2 separate regions of the Homo sapiens genome follow, and region 2 is linked to region 1. Evidence: promoter capture Hi-C in 16 types of primary human blood cells and fetal thymus (Javierre and others, 2016). All regions are on one chromosome and are shown on one strand. The core of a region is centred on a gene start or on the middle of the fragment in contact, and the rest is flanking DNA. Distances in the headings are between cores, read along the strand shown.

What was found. Contacts are between HindIII fragments. The CHiCAGO score rates a contact against its expected background, and 5 or more counts as called.
Region 2: a fragment that was not itself captured here is called in contact with the fragment with the promoter of MAP3K12 in region 1 in 1 of 17 cell types (total B cells); the score reaches 5.3 in total B cells.

Annotation. Positions count from the first base shown.
Region 1 is chr12:53,497,147-53,501,389 of GRCh38, forward strand. It overlaps MAP3K12 (mitogen-activated protein kinase kinase kinase 12), which reads right to left and starts at 2,312. Exons shown (of 14, transcript NM_001193511.2): 1 at 2,281-2,312. TARBP2 (TARBP2 subunit of RISC loading complex) reads left to right here and starts at 4,137. Exons shown (of 9, transcript NM_134323.2): 1 at 4,137-4,243. RefSeq lists a silencer at 2,429-2,678 and an enhancer at 3,772-4,071. The HindIII fragment of the contact is 6,087 bases long and covers 1-3,750 here.
Region 2 is chr12:112,013,116-112,017,659 of GRCh38, forward strand. It overlaps ERP29 (endoplasmic reticulum protein 29), which reads left to right and starts at 311. Exons shown (of 3, transcript NM_006817.4): 1 at 311-494. The coding sequence starts at 351. TMEM116 (transmembrane protein 116) reads right to left here and starts at 50. Exons shown (of 11, transcript NM_001193531.2): 1 at 1-50. RefSeq lists silencers at 135-214, 555-644 and an enhancer at 1,645-1,784. The HindIII fragment of the contact is 577 bases long and covers 1,031-1,607 here.

The sequences.
Region 1 (4,243 bases), core at 1,062-3,561:
TGATAACACTATCTCACTTGGTCTTGTTACGGGCATGATTAAGAAAATCAAAATAAAGTTCTTGGCCCAGGACCTGGCACACAGGAAGCTCTCTATAAGCATTAGCCATATGGAAAGTGCCTAACACACACTTGTAAGTTTTTTATGAATGTGATTCCCTTCCCTTCTTTCCCTTGTTCTCTCTCTCAAAGCAAGTGCCAGTAGGGAGGGTATGGGTGGAAAGGGAGGTGGAGAAACAAGAGGGAAAAAAAAGACCAAAGAATGAAGAAACCAAAGGGCAAGGGCTCTATCCTGAATGATCTTTAGCCTCCTCTGGAATCTGGTCACTGTCACAGTCTCCTCACCTTCTCCACGCACACATATGACCCCAGTCCTTCTGGGAGCCAATGAACCAGACAGACCAGTCTCTGTGGCCAGGCCCTCATGAAGCCCCTATGTCCCCTGCTGGCATCATCTCAACAGTATCCTCCTTCTTCCCAGCATCACCTCAGTCAACAGTGTGAGTGAATGCATGAGTGGCTGGCGTGAGGGGCAGACATTTCCACCTCACTGGAAGAAGCATGGCAGCTGGGGGTCCCAGGGCTTGACTGGTGTAGGGCTGAGGACCTGAATGTAGGGGTGATCTCCAGTCCACCCTAGCAAGGACTTCTTACAGGGTTGATTCCTTCTTTCTCTCCAGATCCAGGCAGGGGAGAGGGAGGACTGTGCATTACGAGAGTCCGGGCTGTGAGTGGTAGAACCAAGAGTCCTCTTCCTAGAAAAGCCTGATCCTACCACAGTGTCACCACGAGGGGAAAAGCAATTGGTTTTTAGAAGGGTTCTGCCCTCTTCAGCTATAAGGAAGCCTAGGAAATCCTGAGCCATGTCTAACTTCTTGCCTCCTCTGTCCATAACTGGGATGGATATTTAGCTGGTGTCTCCATGTTGAGAGCTGGGGTTTTCCTAACATTACCCCAGTTGACAATGGGAGTGAGTGGATGAATGATACGCTTGAGGGGACACACTTTTTTTCACCTGTAAGTGTGAGATAGGAGGGAGTGGGGCCCTAAAGCTCAGAGAAACTTCAGTGTCTGGACAGGAAGGCTCAGGGGGCACTTGAGTCCTATCCTTCCTAAATCCTTTCTGTTAGCCTTAGCTTGGTAGGACCCTCTGGCTGAAACTCAGAGCTCCTAGAGCAATGGAGTCCACCTTGAGAACTGCAAGGGAAATGTGTTTAGAGGGATGCACTGACTGTGGCTTGAGACGACTCTGGGTGGGGTGAGGAGACCTCATGTGCACTCCCTTCTGATTGGAGGCCACTCACCTACGCTCCTCTGAAAAAGGCAGCAGATGAGCATCTACAAGGTAGGACTCCTCCCTTAATTCTAAGGGACACCTCACTGTTTCCTCCCACTGTCTACAGAGCCTTGACTCTTCCCTCCTCTCAGTCAAGGCCTTGGTTACCAGCAAGTCTCAACTCTTGTTTATTTTTAAGCCAATGAGTTTGAGGAGTGTTTGTGGGAAAGGGAGGAGGTTTTTGGAGGGCCTGACTGGGGGAGATGGGTTAGGGGAGCCAGAGGAGATGGAGAGAAAGAGGAGGGAGAAACCCACACGTGAATGGGGGAGGGGAGGATGCAACAGCTGGATGGAGGTGAATGCCACAGCTGGAGGTGAATGCCACAGCTGGAGGGGATTAGGAGGATCACAGCTTGAAGGGGAGGGGGACCAACGCCTGGGCATGCAGGAACAGGTGCTCTCTGACTAATCTTCAGGTCCAGCCTGCTGTGTGTGTGTGTGTGTGTGTGTGTGTGTGTGTGTGTGTGTGTGTGTGTGTGTGTGTGTGTGTGTGTGTGTGTGTGTGTGTGTGTGTGTGTGTGTGGAGATGGTGGGTATATCAGTCCTTGCCCTTCCTTTCCTTCCCTAGAGGGGGCCAAAACTCTCCCTCCTCCTTCCCTCTCTCTCTTCCTGAGGATGAGTGGGAGGAGATGTTCTCTTGCCCTCTGTCCTTTAAGTCTGTCCCCCAATCATCCTCCACCCCACCCCAATACGGTCCTTTCCAGCTCTGGAGGCCCTTCGTCTCCAAGCTGGGCCGCGGCATCCCTCCGCTCCATTCCCTTCCTTCCCAGCCCCACAGGCGTCGGGTCCAGGTCCCCAGTTCCTCCATCCCCACAGCCTCAGCATCCCCACGCCATCACCCCGCACCAGGCCACATCTGCATCCCGACCCTCCCTCCACGCCCGGATCCCAGGACCCAGACCCATCCCTGCCCCCCACCCCCCCACAACTCGGCCAGGCTCTCACCTCGGGGGCTCCGCGGCCGCAGCACAAAAGGCGGCGCTGCTGCAGCTCCGCTCCGGATGCTGCTCCCGCCTCCTCCTCCTTCTCCTCCTCCTTCCCTCCTCCCCCCGCTGCCCTCCACCGGACCCGGGGCGCTGTCACAGGCGATGCTCGTGCGGTGTCCGGATGCACGGGTGTCAGCTTCAGCTTTCTGCCCCCACCCCCCGACCCCTAGCCCCGTCCCTGCTCGGCTTGAACTCCCGCTCCTTCCAGGGCCCCCGCCCCTGGCCCCCCGGGACGGACACGCCCTGAGCGGGGGATGCTGCGATGGAGCCGCCGGCCTCTTAAAGGAGCCCGCTGCTGCCATCCGGCGCGCTCCAGGCTCGTACCTGGCCCGCCTGGGCCCCGCGCCTCCCTGCTGGCGGTGTCCTATGGAGGTCCCACCTCAGGCCTCAGGCTGATTCCACAGGAACCCCCTATGACCCGTCTTATAGACTCCTTTCTACATCGGAGAGAGCAGCCCCTCAGTTGGGATCCCTAGCGCTCTGGCATTGCTCCCCCTATCATACCGATCTTGCCAGCTCTCCTTCCCTTGATTGTCACCACTCACTCCAATTTCACCCACTTGGAATTCACTCGGCTCTAGGCCCCATCCTCCTCCAGTGTTCCTGGATGACCCCTCATTATCATTTCAAGATTCCTCTGGACCTCCAACCCCGGCTCAGAGTAAGACATCTTTCTTGACCCCTTCTCAGAACACTCATTAGAACCTTTTTTTTTTTTAATGTGGTCTCTCCCTTTCTCTCTCCAAGGTCACAAGATTTCCCTCAGCCCAGTGGTTGTGCAACTTTGGGGGAGGAGGCAATGGGGCTCTAGGACTAAACAATGCGCGTCTGCTCAACACCCAGATCAGTTGATTAATCTTAGGCGGCCAAAATTCACTTTTGCTCTCTTCAGCTGAGAGACCCAAGACTCATGGAAGAGGGAACAAGACCACCAAGGTGCCTAGTCCTTCTAATCCTGTCGTCCCACATTACAGCCTGATTATCAGGCCCCAGAGGTTTCCTCGCCAGTTAAAGAGAGGTTCACTAGAGCGGTTCTAAAAAGGTTTCACAAAAGAAGCAACACCTGAAGGGAGGTGAAGGACGACCTAGGAAAAGGAAGCAAGTTCTGTGTCACGGAGGCCCAAGGGCAAGGGGCTTAGGCTGTGGGTTGAGGGGACTGTCTGAGACGGACTTAAACCTGCACCAGCTCCAGAGCCCTGCGGAAACAGAGATCGGTCCCCTCCGGCGTCTAGGTAAGGCCCACCCTCCCAGACCGCAAAGAGCCAGGATCCGACGGCAGCCTCTCCGGACCAATCACAACCTTCCTTCATCAAGGAGGCGGGGTCGGGGGGGGCTGACTTTTCCTTGTCTCCGCCCCTTTAGTCGAAGTAACCAATCTCAGTGCACCTAGGGGAAGTAATCGCAATGGGAGTAACCAATGACGCCATGAAGCTTCTCGTGCGTGCTTGACCCTGCCTCTCCAGCTGCGACACAGATGGCGCGCGGGCTCTTGGGTTCTGTAGTTTTCTCGCGATCCAAAAGGCTCCGTGCCCAAGTGAGTCCTTACCGCCTCCCTACCCAGCGGCTTCCCCTCCGCTAGTACGCATGTCCACAGCTTCACGGACCGGGAGAGAGGGGGCGCGGAAGGAAGGAGGCGGGACGGTATTACAAACAAAAAAATACGGCCTTCTCGAGAAGCGACGGCGGAGGGCCCGCTCCTCCCAGAAGGCGGTGCAGCCTGCCCGGGCGAGCCACGCACGCAGAGGGTTGTGGGGCGGATAGCTCCCCTCCAGATGGAGGCTCACGAAGTAGGGTGGGCGGGGGACTCCATATCCCAGCGTGCCCCGCGGCGGGCCCTACCGGCCGCGACTCCGGGCTTGGCCCCGGCCCTAGCTCGTCGGCTGTGTATTGGGGCGCGTGGAGGCTGCAGTCACGGTGGCGCC
Region 2 (4,544 bases), core at 69-2,568, about 59 Mb after region 1:
GTCCCCATGCGCACTTGGCGCTTCTCCTCAAGCGGAGCAGGAACGGAACTGGGCGGACCCGCCGGAAGACTCGGCGAGTGCGCGCGCGCAGGAGCCCATTTTCCCGCCCGCAACGTGGCCCCGCCCTTTTACCCAGGCCCTACGCGAGCTTCGCCGAGTACGCGTGCGCAGCAGCTTCCCCTCCCTCGCCCCGCCCCTCACGTGGCCCCACCCTCTCACCCTAGACAGATGGGAGCCTCCTGGGGTGTCCACGTGAGCGCGCGTGAGTCCGCCCCCCCAGTCACGTGACCGCTGACTCGGGGCGTTCTCCACTATCGCTTACCTACCTCCCTCTGCAGGAACCCGGCGATATGGCTGCCGCTGTGCCCCGCGCCGCATTTCTCTCCCCGCTGCTTCCCCTTCTCCTGGGCTTCCTGCTCCTCTCCGCTCCGCATGGCGGCAGCGGCCTGCACACCAAGGGCGCCCTTCCCCTGGATACGGTCACTTTCTACAAGGTAACCGGGGCGGGGGACGTCGCGCGCAGGTGCCGCCGGGGCGCCCGGAAGAGCGCGCGCCCGTGGGGAGACGCTGGATTCCGGGAGCTGACGGGAGGTGGTCTGTAGCAACGGTCCCAGAGCTTCCCGGCGTCCTACAGGCCTAGTGGACTCTGAGCGGAGAATGTTATGACCACCGGGCATGCACGCTTCAGGGCCCCGGCGCACCCTTGCTTTTGCAGCATTTATACTTGCATCCACCCTTGCAAAGATGCAGCCGAGGGAACTGGGTGCCCCTTCCCTTCACCTGTGGGGAGAGGGCGGTGCCTGGCGAGATCCAACCCTCGAGTCCCAAGTGGGAGAACCGGAGGGCGGTGCGAGGTCGACGCCACCGGGCTCCCGGCTGTGGAAGCTGGGAGGGGTTGGCGGGGGGAAATGCAGGCGCGTTAGCCTGCGTGTCCGCGCCCCTCTTCCCAGGGTTGGATTGCAGCCTGCTTTGCAGTGTGCAAACAATGATCAGATATCATACATCTTGAATAGTGCAAGCGTGAAGAATAAGCTTCAGTTCAGCCACCCTGTAAAGCAGGGGTCCCCAACCACCAGGCCCGTCGGTGGCCTGTTAGAAACCGGGCCGCACAGCAGGAGGTGAGCGGCAGGCGAGCTAGCACTACAGCCTGAGCTCCGCCTCCTGTTACATCAGCTGCGGCATTACATTCTCATAGGAGCACGACCTTTATTGTGAACTACGCATGTGAGGGATCCAGGTTGTGTGCTTCTTATCAGAATCTAATGCCTGATGATCTGAGGCGAAACAGGTTCATGTCGAAACCACCCAACCCCGTGGAAAAGTTGTCTTCCATGAAACCAGTTCTTGGTGCCAAAAAGGTTGGGGATAGCTGTTGTAGGAAACATCTTGGGGTTGGCAACAAAATCAGTAAAATTGGGTCAAGGCATGGAAGAATTTGCCACTACCTCCGCCTTTCCCCCCTTCCATTTTTGCAGAATTAGGGATCCTGGCCTGAGTAAATGGACGGTTGGAAATGGTGGCTGAATGCAACACCGCAGTCCCAGTCCCCTCCTCTTGCACCTGTCTTCACCCACGAGCAGCTTTTAACTTCCTCTAGGAGATGGGCAAGCTTAGTGTTGCGAGAGAGCCAGTCATTTCATTTTCAGGTTTTGTACTCATTGTGGGGAAGTGAAACCAAGAAGTAGTTGTCTCCAGTGGTTGAAGTCTCCTATTTTCAAGCGTTCCCTGTCGTGGATTTGGCACTTGCAGCTCATTCAAGGCAAAGTTTCAAGAATTTAAAAGTGTAGGCCGGGCTTAGTGGCTCACGCCTGTAATCCCAGCACTTTGGGAGGCTGAGGCGGGTAGATCACCTGAGGTCAGGAGTTTGAGACCAGCCTGACCAACAAGGTGAAACCCCGTCCCTACTAAAAATACAAAAATTAGCTGGGCGTGGTGGTGGACACCTGTAGTCCCAGCTCCTCGGGAGGCTTAGACAGGAGAATTGCTTGAACCCAGGAGGCGGAGGTTGCGGTGAGCCAAGATCACGCCACTGCACTCCAGCCTGGGCGACAGAGCAAATACTCCGTCTCAAAAAAAAAAAAAAAAGTGTGGGCTGGGTGCGGTGGCTCATGCTTGTAATCCCGGCACTTTGGGAGGCTGAGGCAGGTAGATCACCTGAGGTCAGGAGTTGGAGACCAGCCTGGCCAACATGGTGAAACCCTGTCTCTACTAAAAATACAAAAATTAGCTGGGCGTGGTGGCGGGTGCCTGTAATCCCAGCTACTCGGGAGGCTGAGGCAGGAGAATTGCTTGAACCTGGGAGGTGGAGGTTGCAGTAAGCCGTCATCATGCCATGACACTCCAGCCTGGGCAACAAGAGCAAAACTCTGTCTCAAAAAAAAAAAAAATGGTGTAGGTGTGGCTGATTGGTTGTCAGGCATGCTCAGACACACCCTACAGCACCCTATGCTTTGGGGGCCTTTACTGGCAAAATGACACCCCTACCCCACCCTGCTCCATGGGAATCAGATAATATCACAGAACAAGTGTGACCCAAAGGGAAACTTTGCGCCATAAAGCTAACAGTGTTTTCTACTATTACCACCCTAGTCTAGGTCAACATTACAATAGCCTCTTCTCTGGTCTCCCTGCTTCCACTCTTGAGTCTCCACACAGTAGCCTAAGTTCTATATGACCTGACTCCTGGCTTCCCTCTCATCTCCCAACCATTCTCCTACTGTCTTTTGAATATTCCTTGCTCTTTACTGCCTTAGGATATGTTGCACTAGTTGTTCCTTGTGACTGGAATATTCTCTGCCCAAACTTTGAAAGGCTAGTTAGTTACTTCTCATCATTCGGGCTTAGGTTAAGTGTTTCCTCCTTAGAGTTCTTCCTTGATTTATCTTCCCCCCAGTCTAAAGTGCCAGTCACATTAATCTGTTTTATTTCTCCATACAGCACTCATCACTGATTTTTTAAAAATCTATTTTGCCATCTTTCTCTCTCACTGGAATATTATGTGCTCATGAAGAAGCTCCTTGTCTATTTTGTTCCTGATCGTCTGCGCTGCATAACAGATTACCTGTCTCATAGAAGGTGCACAATAACTATTTTGTTGCGTGAATGAACAAACGTTTTCTCCAGTCTCTTTTCAAATCTTCTCTTCCATCACGACTGAACCAAAAGGAAATGTACTAGTGTTCTGTCTGGCAGCCTTGTTCCATGCTTTGCCTTTCAGTGATTTCCAGTATCTTTTTTGTTGTTGTTTCTTTCCCTTCACCATCACTAGAATGTTAGTTTCATGAGCTAAGAGATGCCATTTTGTTCCCTGCTGTGTTCACTTAGTATGGTGCCTGGCAGGCCTTTAGTAACTTTTTACTCAATGAACGAATGAATGAATAATGAACTTATCTATACTTTAAAGAAGTGAGTTGCCTGATTATAGGTAATGGTAGAGCTGATTCCCACTAGCCCATTGGACACCAAGGGCTGGTAGGAAGTAGATGAGGAAAATAGACTTCTAAAGCTATCATTAAGAGATAACAGACCACTTCGGGAGGCCGAGGCAGGTGGATCACAAGTTCAGGAGATCGAGGTCATCCTGGCTAACACGGTGAAACCCTGTCTCTACTAAAAATACAAAAAAATTAGCCGGACGTGGTGGCGGGCACCTGTAGTCCCAGCTACTTGGGAGGCTGAGGCAGGAGAATGGCGTGAACACGGGAGGCGGAGCTGCAGAGAGCTGAGATGGCACCACTGCACTCCAGCCCGGGCAACAGAGCGAGACCCTGCCTCAAAAAAAAAATAAAAAATAACAGACTAAGATAACAAGAGAAAATTCTTTATGCAAATGTTTGCCATTCAAAACCATTCTGCCTTACCCTTGAAACTAAGAATGGTGAAAGTAGAAGGTGGAGATCTCTGAATTCTATTTTAATGTTAGACCACTGTATAATTATTAATATTATTCCATAATACAAGTGCAGGCCCTTGAAAGTAGGTATCCCGTGTTTTGCTTTTTAAACATTCTCCCCTTCCCCAACATGTAGCATCTGCTACAAAGCCTGTCAGAGTATTGTTCATTCATCAGATATTTTCAGAACATCTGCCACATTCCAGGCACTGTTGAGCACTAGGGATACAGCAGAAAACAGGTCAGACAAGGTCCTTATTCTCATAAATGTATTCTAGTGGAAAGGATGGAAAACAAGCAAATAAGGATTTCAGAGAGTGAGTAATGCACTGAAGAAAATACAGCAGGGTAATGATAGCAGGGTATGATGAAAATGAAGCCATATTAGATGGTCTGATTGGAGGAGTCCCCAGTAGCAGGGGACATTTGAACTGAGCCTTGAACGATAAAGAGATAACCATGAAAAGAACTGGGGAAAGGACATTCCAGCCAGCAGAGAGCAAATGAAAAAGCTCTTGAGTGGGAATAAGTTTCATGTGCTGAAGTGAAATAAGGCCAGTTGGGCCAGAGGGATGTGATCTTATTTGTATTTTAAGTCTTTCCTGCTTTTAGGCCCCCAGAGCTCAGGCTTTTTGGCATTTAAAGATGACTT